Linked DNA regions of Homo sapiens: region 1 is linked to region 2. The links are contacts of gene promoters, found by promoter capture Hi-C in human tissues and cell types (Jung and others, 2019). All regions are on one chromosome and are shown on one strand. The core of a region is centred on a gene start or on the middle of the fragment in contact, and the rest is flanking DNA. Distances in the headings are between cores, read along the strand shown.

Region 1 (5,296 bases), core at 2,659-5,158, 50 kb before region 2:
AGCTGAGGTTCTCAGTTTCTGCCTCTGGCTGATAAGAGGAAGAGGGAGGAGGAAAGAGGTCCAGTGTCTCTAAGCAGCAGCAACTCTCCTGGACAACCCCCACTGCAAAAAAAGCAGTCCTTTGTTGATCTTTTTTTTCCTTTTGAGTAAAATCTTTAGAATGGCTTGTATTTCTATGTGGCTAAAAATGACTTTTTGTTCCTCTCTGTCTTCAGATGTTTACCTGACAAGCTCCTGAGCACCTGGGAGTGTCAAGTAGCTTCTATTGTAAGCACGGGTCTCCCTTTTTGGTGCCCATTTCTTGGTCCTGCTGATTATCTTTGGTCATTTTGATTTGGTGGGTAGTGACCAGGACACCTGGGGACGAGGCTGCCTCCTCCCAGACTCATAAATGCTACCTCCCATTCCAGGGTGTCCCCACTGACCTCTGAGGGACCAGGGTCAACATGCAGCAGTGTGATCAATTAAAAAAAAATCATTATTAGAGTTGGCTCCTGAGCTCCAGGCTGCAGCTCTAGAGCTTTGCACAATGACTGGCAGTGGCATTGTGTACAGCCCAGGCAGCTTCCTTGGGAAATTTGTATTTATCTAAGCCCTGTTTGACATCATCTACTGTCTATGGTGGGGCAAGGACTGGCTGAGCAGGGCATTTGTATTTGCCCATCAGAGCCGTAGGCACATTGTTCCAGGAATTCGACTCATGATACCCTATGGGGTCGGGGTACGCGTGGCAACAGAAGCAAGGTGTGCAGCAACATAATTGGGCTTGCCTGGCAGCGTATCTCCCTGGTGATTCTGCCTCCTTCAGGAGTCAGGGCTTGCTTTACTTACCCTTTTTGCTGTCACAGCTTCAGTCCTGACATTGACACAGTGGGCCCAGCAGTTGGCTTCTCTAACCAGCACTATCTAGGGGACTCTCCTAGGCTCCCAGGAGGTAGAGTCCATGCCTGGCTTTGTCCAAAGAGTGGAGGTGAGCACTACCATCCTCTTGAGCGCTCCTTGGCGCGACTTTGTCTGTGTGCTGTGCACCAGCCAATTAATAACGTTCAGACTTTCCCCCAGGTCGTCTCTATGAGAGACTATCAGGAAACACACCTGCCTTGCACTGGACACCAGTGGTCAGACACCACAGGGGAATCTGTTTCACAGTGTTGACAGTTTTGTGTGAGAACACAGCAACACTGGCAATAGCATTTACATACCACTGGCAAGCAGTGCTGGCTTCCCAAAGTGACAGGGCCACGGGGGAGAGGCAGTTACTGAGCCATTTGCAGCTCATAGGCATCATGGAGGTGTACAACTGAGCCAACCGTCCCATCCTCACTGACTATTGTTTTGATATGCCCCAGCTAAGCTGGGGTTCCAGTATCAGAGAGGCTAGCCACCCTGCCCTGACAGTACATAATGGGGAACTGGATGTGGGTGTTTATACTGTGTCTTTCACAGGCTACTTCTCTTACCTGGTAGACGTTCTAACGCCTAGCTGTAAGACCTGTGACCAGGTGTCCCTTACATGGAAAACATTGATACTGGCAGACACCCTTGTGGCTCTTGTCTGACCTGTGTCCAGTTTATTCCTGCCTGACCATGGCTTTGATGTTGGGAGCTCAACCTGTGTTCTCCTTAGTGTCCTGGGGAAAATCTGGTCTAGGGTAGCCCCCAAAACAAATAAGTTCAAAGATTTTTACTTACAGATCCTGCCAGGAAGGGCACAATGAGTCAGGAGGGCAGTCCTCCATCCTACGGTCAGAGAGAGACAAAGAGAGAAAGAAAGCGAGGAGAGCGGCAGCTGGGGTATATATTAGGAAATAATGGGTATGTTACTTCAAGTTCACGGGCAAATGCCTGAATGGCATGTTTAAAGAAAGCAGCAGGAAGGTGGAAACTCAGCCTGCTAGGTGACAGAGATGCCTCTAAGTTCTTATCTCTGGCCACTAGTTTTAGCCATTTGGGTGTGGTGTTCTACTTCTAATGCCCAGGCAGCAACCTTTGTTGTGTTGTTGCTATTACACCTCCCTTTTAATGTTACGTGGGTCAGTTAACTTGTCTGTCTCTATGGGTTTGACTCACATCTCTTTTTACACGTCTTAATATTGCCTAGTAGAAACATACAGTTCGGAGTACACTTATGGTGGATTCATTGCACAAATGAACCAAAATGTCATCAAGAAACTAATAGGGACTAGATATTCCTTATGCCATGTGAAAACAAAAAATTCACAGGTATAGGAATCCATGGTTTGCAAATGCCTGAACATTTTTTTTTTTAAAAAAGGACAGTTATCCCTGAGAGATGAGAAATAGTGATGTGAGTCCTACTGTAGCCTTGGGTTATGGTTGAGTTTCCAGGCTGTGGGTGTGGCAAGGACCTTGGAAGACACTCGAGTTGAGAAGGTGGAACTGAGAGTCTGGAGAACAAGGTGGCTGAGTTTCATCAAGCCATTCTCCATGTCCAGTGCTAGGAAGGGGAAAGAGTATTCATGCCAGCTGCCATGAGATAGCTTTGCTATGTACCATCATCACTGATGTGGCACATGGATCAAAGAACTATGGAAAAAATCCAGACACAAGAAGAAGCCATTTGGGTGAACTTAGCCTTCAACAATTTTGTCTTATTCTTGACCACAAAAAGGCAACTTTATATGACACTGCCATCTTGCATTTTCCTGCAAGCAGTATGATGAAGTTCATATCTGCACAGTGAAGAAGTGGCTGGTGTCTGCATTTCTTGCAAGCAGTACAATGAAGTTCATATTTGTACAGTAAAGAAGTGACTGGTGTCTGCATTTAGATGATGTCTACATCTCAGTGTTCTGTCTATATAAGTTAATGCCTTTGTGAATCTCTCAAAATTAGAATAAGCTAGGCCATACAATGAAAACATTCAGAGCTCTTTTAAAGCAACAGGCTGTGGATACATTTTGCCTTGTGACTGCTAGACAAGTCTCTTCTTCACAACCAGAGGTATTTCAGAGGATATTTATGGCAAATACAGAGAATATGTACCATCTGTCTTCCCTAAAACAAGTGATATTTCCATTCAATTTAGGAAAGACTGATGCTTGAAAAGATGAAAATGATTAAAAAGCGATTTTGAAAAGTTATTACGGTAGCATTATTAAATACATTTTATGGTAGCATTATTAAATACAAAAGGCATTAATATATGCCTTTTGGTATGGTAGCATTATTAAATACATTTATGGTAGCATTATTAAATACAGAAGGCATTAATATACAATACAAAAATAAAACACTGTAGATAAAGTTTGTATGGCCAAAAAAAATTAATAAACAAATGTTAAAAATATTTTCAAATTTTAGGCATGGGCAAGGACTTCATGTCTAAAATAGCAAAAGCAATGGCAACAAAAGCCAAAATTGACAAATGGGATCTAATTAAACTAAAGAGCTTCTGCACAGCAAAAGAAACCACCATCAGAGTGAACAGGCAACCTACAGAATGGGAGAAAATTTTTGCAACCTACTCATCTGACAAAGGGCTAATATCCAGAATCTACAATGAACTCAAACAAATTTACAAGAAAAAAACAAACAACCCCGTCAAAAAGTGGGTGAAGGATATGAACAGACACTTCTCAAAAGAAGACTTTTATGCAGCCAAAAAACACATGAAAAAATGCTCATCATCACTGGCCATCAGAGAAATGCAAATCAAAACCACAATGAGATACCATCTCACACCAGTTGGAATGGCAATCATTAAAAAGTCAGGAAACAACAGGTGCTGGAGAGGATGTGGAGAAATAGGAACACTTTTACACTGTTGGTGGGACTGTAAACTAGTTCGACCATTGTGGAAGTCGGTGTGGCGATTCCTCAGGGATCTAGAACTAGAAATACCATTTGACCCAGCCATCCCATTACTGGGTATATACCCAAAGGATTATAAATCATGCTGCTATAAAGACACATGCACATGTATGTTTATTGCAGCACTATTCACAATAGCAAAGACTTGGAACCAACCCAAATGTCCAACAATGATAGACTGGATTAAGAAAATGTGGCACATATACACCATGGAATACTATGCAGCCATAACAAATGATGAGTTCATGTCCTTTGTAGGGACATGGATGAAGCTGGAAACCATCATTCTCAGCAAACTATCGAAAGGACAAAAAACCAACACCGCATGTTCTCACTCATAGGTGGGAATTGAACAATGAGCATGCAGGGACACAGGAAGGGGAACATCACACACCAGGGCCTGTTGTGTGGTGGGGGGAGGGGGGAGGGATAGCATTAGGAGATATACCTAATGCTAAATGACGAGTTAATGGGTGCAGCACACCAACATGGCACATGTATACATATGCAACAAACCTGCACGTTGTGCACATGTACCCTAAAGCTTAAAGTATAATAATAATAATAAAAAGAACTAATATAATATTACAAGGCAAGGTGTGAAGCAGTAATGTTTCCTTGGTCAGTAAGCAGAATGGTTTTGGAACAAACTTTTGCTTTATACCAAAGGGCTGACTTCCCCAACTGAACCCAAAGGGAGGGAAGGAAGCAGCTGGACATGCAGACCCTACCTAGAGGATCTGGGCTTAGCTGCACAGGCTGTGGCCCTGTCCTTGGCGGACATTGTCTGGAGAAGGAAGATCTTGGCCACTGTGTTGTCTCTACTTGTCCAGGAGGATTCAGGGGTACCTTTCTTGGTTCTTGCCATGCCTGGCTGTCACTGGGGAGCCTTTAGGAAATTCCCTAGGGCTCCAGAAAAGCAGAAAAGGAAAATGAAGATGGGTGAGGGTGACATCAAATAAAATTAACTGAGAATGTTCTAAAATATAGGGTGAGTGGAGTTGGAAGGATTGCCTAAGATTTACAAGGGCATTAGAGACATAAGTGTCAACAGCAATGTTCTAAAATCCTAAACCCTACTCTTTATTGGAGGCACAGCTGGGAATATTTGTGTAGGTACAAGACATGCAGTTTTCACTCTTCTCTGTCTTCATTACAGAACAGCACAGTGATGAAGAGACAGGGCTCTGGATGGAAAATACTTGTGTTAAGTGAAGTCTTTCATTAACTAAGACAGTGGCATTTGCACAAAGGGAAATAAGTAAATGAAAAAGAGAAAAGAGAACTGAATAAAGGCATGTGCATATACAAACAAGTGAATTATACATAAGACCAATGGGGGAAAATAACATTTTGAACAAATATTCTAGGAAATTAAATATCCATAGAGTGAAATTAAAATCTGACTTTTGATCTCACATTTCACAAAAATTCAATTCCAGGTAGATCATTGACCTAAATG
Region 2 (5,503 bases), core at 2,896-5,395:
AGTATTTTTACTGAAAGGGAGACTAGAGGTTTCTCCCTACAAATATCTGGGGCTATCTCCTATTGCACCACCTGCATTTAGCCAGGTGGGCCTCAGGTGCTTTGTGTAAATGGGGGACCAAAAGTACAACCAGTCACAGCCGTTGTGTTGCTGTCCCTCATTGCATGGTTTGTGCTTTGTCCAGGTGGGCCCCAGGTGCTTTGCTGATACATGGGCACATGAGGGCCTTCTATCAAATGAATGTTGACACTCCTGGAAGAGGTACCATCTGTGTTTTGTCCAGGTGGGCCCTAGGTACTTTGTTGGTAGGTGGATACACAAGGGCCTCTAATTAAAGATATGTTGCCATTCACTGCAGATGCACCACCTGTGTTTTGTCCAGGTGGGACCCATGTGTACTGACAGAGAAAGGGAGCACAGGGATGTTGTTGTCCCCTCCTGGTGCACAACCTGAGTTCTGGAGAGGTACATGGCAGGTGCTTGGCATGAAGATGAAACTAGAAGCATGACCATACAAAAGGATAATGCTGGTATTTACAACCACAACTGATGTGGTGTGATCAGGTGAACCACAGGTGCTCTTACGGAAGTTGGAAACAGACATGTCTCCTAACATATGTTTCTTGTCCATAGTAGTGGGTGCTTGAAGTGTAGAATTTTCTCTCTGTCCATGTGTGCTGCAGGATGCACTGTTGAAAAGCAGGAACACAAGGGCCTCCAACTATGGATCTGGTGCCATCCCCTCCCATACCACTGCATGAATTCTGGGTAGGTGGGTCTAAACCAGGAATGTAGGCGGCAGCAGAAGTATATCCAAATACAGGAATGTTGCTAGCCCCTTGTGGTGCAGCAGCCATGCTGTGGCCAGTTGGGTCCCAGGCTGCCTGACCAAATGGGAAAACAGAAGTGGTGCTGGGTGTCCCACTCTGTCCTTGTCCAATGTTGAGTTCTCCTGATGTGGAACTGGGGCCTGGGGCAGACATGCTGAACCCAATGCTCCCACCATCCATAGGGGTTCCAGGTCCCATAATCACTTGTGGGCCTGGAATAGTATTTCCAACCAGTAAGGTACTGTCTCCAGTGCCAGGCATCCCAGTGGCAATTCTAAATCCAGAAGTCTTTGCTGTGCCATTGGGGAAAGCACTTGCATTGTGACCCTCGACTGGCTCAGCATTAACAGGTGTGCCCAATGCAGTATATGGTGATGTTAACTCTGCAAAACCTGGTGGAATTATGCTGCCACTCAGTGGCTGGACTGAAGGAGATGTTAAGCCTATAACTGGTGCTGGGGTTGCTGGATTCCCCAGAATAAAAGAACTGTCAGACTTCTGCTGCCCATCAGTGGCCCCAAGTGTGGAATGAGAGATGGATCCTGTATTTAAAGGATGGCTGGAAGTTGTGGTTGGTCTCCTATCTGCCTGTGCAGGAAAACTGGTGGAGACTTGGGCTGAGGCAATGCTGTCACTGTGTAGTGTGTTCCCAGAACCAGGAAGCCCCATATAAAATCGGATGTACTCCTCCTTCCTGGAGACAAAGGTAGACTGCAAGATGACAGTTTTGGAAGGAGGGGTGGTATTCATGTCACTGGTGTCAATGGCAGGCTTGGATAACGATGCTGCAGAGGCACTGCTCACTAAAGTGGAGGTGTCTGGAGGAACCATGATAGGAAGGCTCAGGAAATCATGGGCACTGGGGAGAGAGGTTTTCTGCTGCGGCCCATCAGGGGCCCCAAATTTGGGTTGAGGGGTGGCTCCTGGATTTAAAGGATGGTTGGAAGCTGTAGCTGGTGCCCTGACTGACTGTGCAGGCAAACTGGTGGAGCCTTGGACTGAGGCAGTGTTGCCGCTGGGTTGTGTGTTCCCAGAACCAGGAAGCCCCAGGTAAAATGGGAGGTACTTCTTGGAGACAGAGGCAGACTGCAAGATGACAGCCTTGGAAGGAGGAGTGGTATGCATAGCATTGGTTTCAATGGGAGGTTTGGATGATGATGCTGTAGAGGCACTGTTCACTAAAGTGGAGGTGTCTGGAGGAGGAATGATGGGAAGGCTCAGGAAAACACAGGCACTGGGGAGAGAAGCTTTCTGCGGCTGCCCATCAGGAGCCTCAAATTTGGGCTGAGGGGTGGCTTCTTTTCCAAAGAGTTGGTTAAAACTTGGGGTGGTATTGTGGAATATAAATGGAAGTGGGGATGTGTAGACTGATGTCTTTCCCGGGTGCCTCTGCTCTGCACTGCAATGTATTTGGGAATTTGGGAGAGAGCTCACTCTGGAGCTTAGGGAAGATGTGAAAATAACAACCTGAGATGGGGCAGTAGTATCCATATTAACTACTTCAGGGTCTACCGCAGTCTGTGAGGTTAGGTGGGCAGATGCGTTTGTTGTGACAGTGGAAATGACTGACGTGGAATTCATAGGCTTGCTGGTGATAACTGAGGTCCCGGTGGAAGGGACTGGAAGAAGAGTCAGGAAGGAAAGAGGAGGAGGGGAATCCACACACATAGATATTGGGGACTCCCTTGTGACGGGAGGCTTGAAGGAGGGTGTGGAGCTAGGAGGTGTTGGGGGGTCAGAAGTGAGAGGCGCTGCTCCTACGACTGAATTATAAGAGCCTCCTTTCTCATTAGACTGATCACCCAAAATGGGAACAAGGTCAGCAGGAAGAGCCAGAGGAGAGTTAGGGATTGTGAATGCTATTTTCTCATCCATTTTTGGTGTGGTGGAAAGTGGAGGGATAGGCAGGATGAGGGGTCCAGTAGCCAGGTCAGCCAAGTCAGGGATGGGCAAAGGAGCTGAGACCTGGGAAGTGTAAGTGGTCAGGGGCAGGGAGTCTGTGGTCTGCACAGGTTGGGAGAAAGAAGGGGCAGGCTGGGTGATGCTGCTGTTTGTCATGGTCTCTGTTTTATCCTCCAAGATTCTGCTATTCCTTTTATACTCAGGGCTCTTCTCCAAGGTGTGTAGGTCTCCCTCAACAGACAGGCAGGGGAGCTTAGCAGGTGGGGGAAGCTCACCTCGATCCCACAGCAATGGCAGTGAAGGGGGCAGCGGCAGCAGCAATGGAATCGACATTTTCCTTTTGCAGGGCCTGTTGCGGGCAGCTCTGGGAGGAGCAGCGCTCCTTGGAGGAATACAGAAAGGCTTCTCATCAGGCATCCTCTTTCCGGACATCAGCGGAATCGGCAAGCCTAGGGAGCTGGGCGGTGGCTCTTCATTCAGCACTTCCGCAGCCAACTTCTGCTGCAGCAGGGAGCAGCCAACGGCTGGCTCAGGGGGCGCTGTTGCATCCGGATCAGGCTTTCCAAGATGCCGGGCACATCCGGCCTGGCTGTGTGTGCTGGGCATGGCAGGGCCTTCCAAGCAGGAGCTCGCTGGAGACGCCTGGGCCTTCTCACTCATGCTGTTTTCTGAGAACTTGTGGTAGACATTTCCCTCCAGAGGCCCAGGGCTGCATCTGAAGGAGGCCACGTCTCCCTGGGTGCCCTGGGACCTGGATGTGGACGATGCTTCTCCGCTGCTAAGGGGGGTCCTTTTCTCGTCATCCTCCCCTTCGATCTGCACCGGATCCTCATCCTTCTTCACTCTTCTGGGCCCTTCTTGGGCCCACACCTCGGTCTCCTCCAGGAGAGTGGCTGGGATGGGCTTCCTGGCCTTGACCGCCGGCTCACGTGGTGAAGGCAGCAGGAGAGTGAACATGCGGCTGGGAGGAGGGATCCTTACGGAACTGGGGTGTCCAAACCTCGGGGGGTTCCGAGCAGGCAGCATGGGTGTCTTCCTGATGGCCAGCCCCCAACCCACAGCCGGCAGGACCCCCAGAGGGGCGGCCGCAGCCCGAGGGAGAGGACACGGCCTCTTAGGGGCGACGAAGATGCTGGCTGCTGAAGGCCTGCGACGGGCGTTCCGGCGGAACAGGCCGCGGAAAGGGCGCGGGGTGGGTACAGAGTGAGCCCGACCGGGCGGGGAGGCGTCCCGGGACAGGGGAGCGGGGGCGCCACGCCCTGGCCCTGGCAGGGGCCGGCGGCGGCACCCGGGTCTAAATTTACTAAGTAAATTGCCCATTTAGAGCTAGCCGTGCCTCCTACCGTAAAACAGGGTCAGCAGTGGACTCAACTCTCCTCAGCCACCGCCTCCTCTGGCGACCAAGCACAAACTGACTGGCTCTACGCCTGCGACGCCGCCGCGAGGTTCCTCACAGAACCAGGGAGCGCCAGCGGGGGCGCAAAAGGCAGGGGTCAGAGGGCAAAGGGCGACGCCCCGTCGGCCCCAGCTGCCCCAGGACCCCCGGAAGCCCCGCTGCCGGTGGCAGGTGTTGCACCGCGTGGCCTCTATGAGGGAACTGCTGGGGCCTGCGGGCCCATCGCCAGAGCTCTTGTCACCTGGGCGCCGGCTCTGCCTGTTCCTTAGCCCTGGCCCGGCGCTGTTGCACGCAGTGGCCCTGTGTCGGCCGTCCCCATTCCCCGGTTCACAGAGGGCACATCTGCTTCAAGTTAAGCACAGGACAACCTATATCCTGCCAGCCTCCTCTAGGACCTTGGCAGTGCTCTGTGCTGCCTGGAGCCAGGTGTGCCGTCTCTGTGGCGCCAGGGTCACCAGCCAGGCCGTGAGGGTTTCCGAGGAGGGGACGTGGTGCCTTGTCCTGACTAGATGCTACGCCCTACCACATCTCTTCCTGGCAGGCAGGGCCTCTTCACTTCTTTTCACAAATTTGTTTTAAACAACATTTAAGGCTGGGCGCGGTGGCTCACGCCTTTAATCCCAGCACTTTGGGAGGCCAAGGCGGGTGGATCACCTGAGGTCAGGAGTTCGAGACCAGCCTGACCACCATGGTGAAACCCCATCTCTACTAAAAATACAAAAATTAACTGAGCGTGGTGGCACGCACTTGTAATCCCAGCTACTAGGGAGGCTGAGGCAGGAGAATCGCTTGAAAGCGGGAGGTGGAGGTTGCAGTGAGCTGAGATCACCTCACTGCACTCCAGCCTGGGGGAACAGAGCAAAACTCTTGTCTCAAACAAAAACAAAAACAAAAAACCACAACAAACAACAGCAACAACATTTAAGCCTTAGGCTGCTTGCTCCTTGGGTCATTGATATGACAGTGGCCTAGCCAGGCTTCGAACCTGGGCTGTGTGATTCCAGAGCTGGTGCCGTGGCCTGTGTGCCTCCTTGTTATGGACACATCATGTATTCTCATTATTTCCTGTAGTCCTTAGGGTACCTAGCACACAGCACATCTGTATTAAGCACATGCGTTCCTAGGGGGAAGCCCTTACTTCACCTCATAAGTTGGTCATGGCAGGCACTGGGCTCCAGTCTCCTCTGAAGACATGGGGCAGCGACCCCCAATAGTCAGCAAAGCAGCATCCCACACTGTTCTTCTAATTGAGCCTTGCAGCCCAGATTTCCTTTTTGGTCTAGTTTGAAGGATCTAAATATGTAAAGATTATAGTCCAGATCCATTTTGGCCTATCCCGAAAGAAATTCACCAGTGGATTAATCCAAATGGATAA

What was found. The method cuts DNA at HindIII sites, captures the fragments that hold promoters and counts their contacts. A contact is called where the count stands out against the background at its distance.
Region 1: a contact is called between a fragment that was not itself captured here and the fragment with the promoter of NPAP1 in region 2, in 4 of the 25 tissues and cell types used here (dorsolateral prefrontal cortex, mesenchymal stem cells, pancreas and 1 more).

What each region holds. Positions count from the first base shown.
Region 1 is chr15:24,724,672-24,729,967 of GRCh38, reverse strand. No RefSeq gene overlaps it. Among named protein-coding and RNA genes, the nearest start is that of NPAP1, 52 kb to the right of the region's middle. The HindIII fragment of the contact is 3,912 bases long and covers 1,953-5,296 here.
Region 2 is chr15:24,674,417-24,679,919 of GRCh38, reverse strand. It overlaps NPAP1 (nuclear pore associated protein 1), which reads right to left and starts at 4,145. Exons shown (of 1, transcript NM_018958.3): 1 at 1-4,145. The coding sequence starts at 4,052. The coding sequence ends at 582. The HindIII fragment of the contact is 8,790 bases long and covers 338-5,503 here.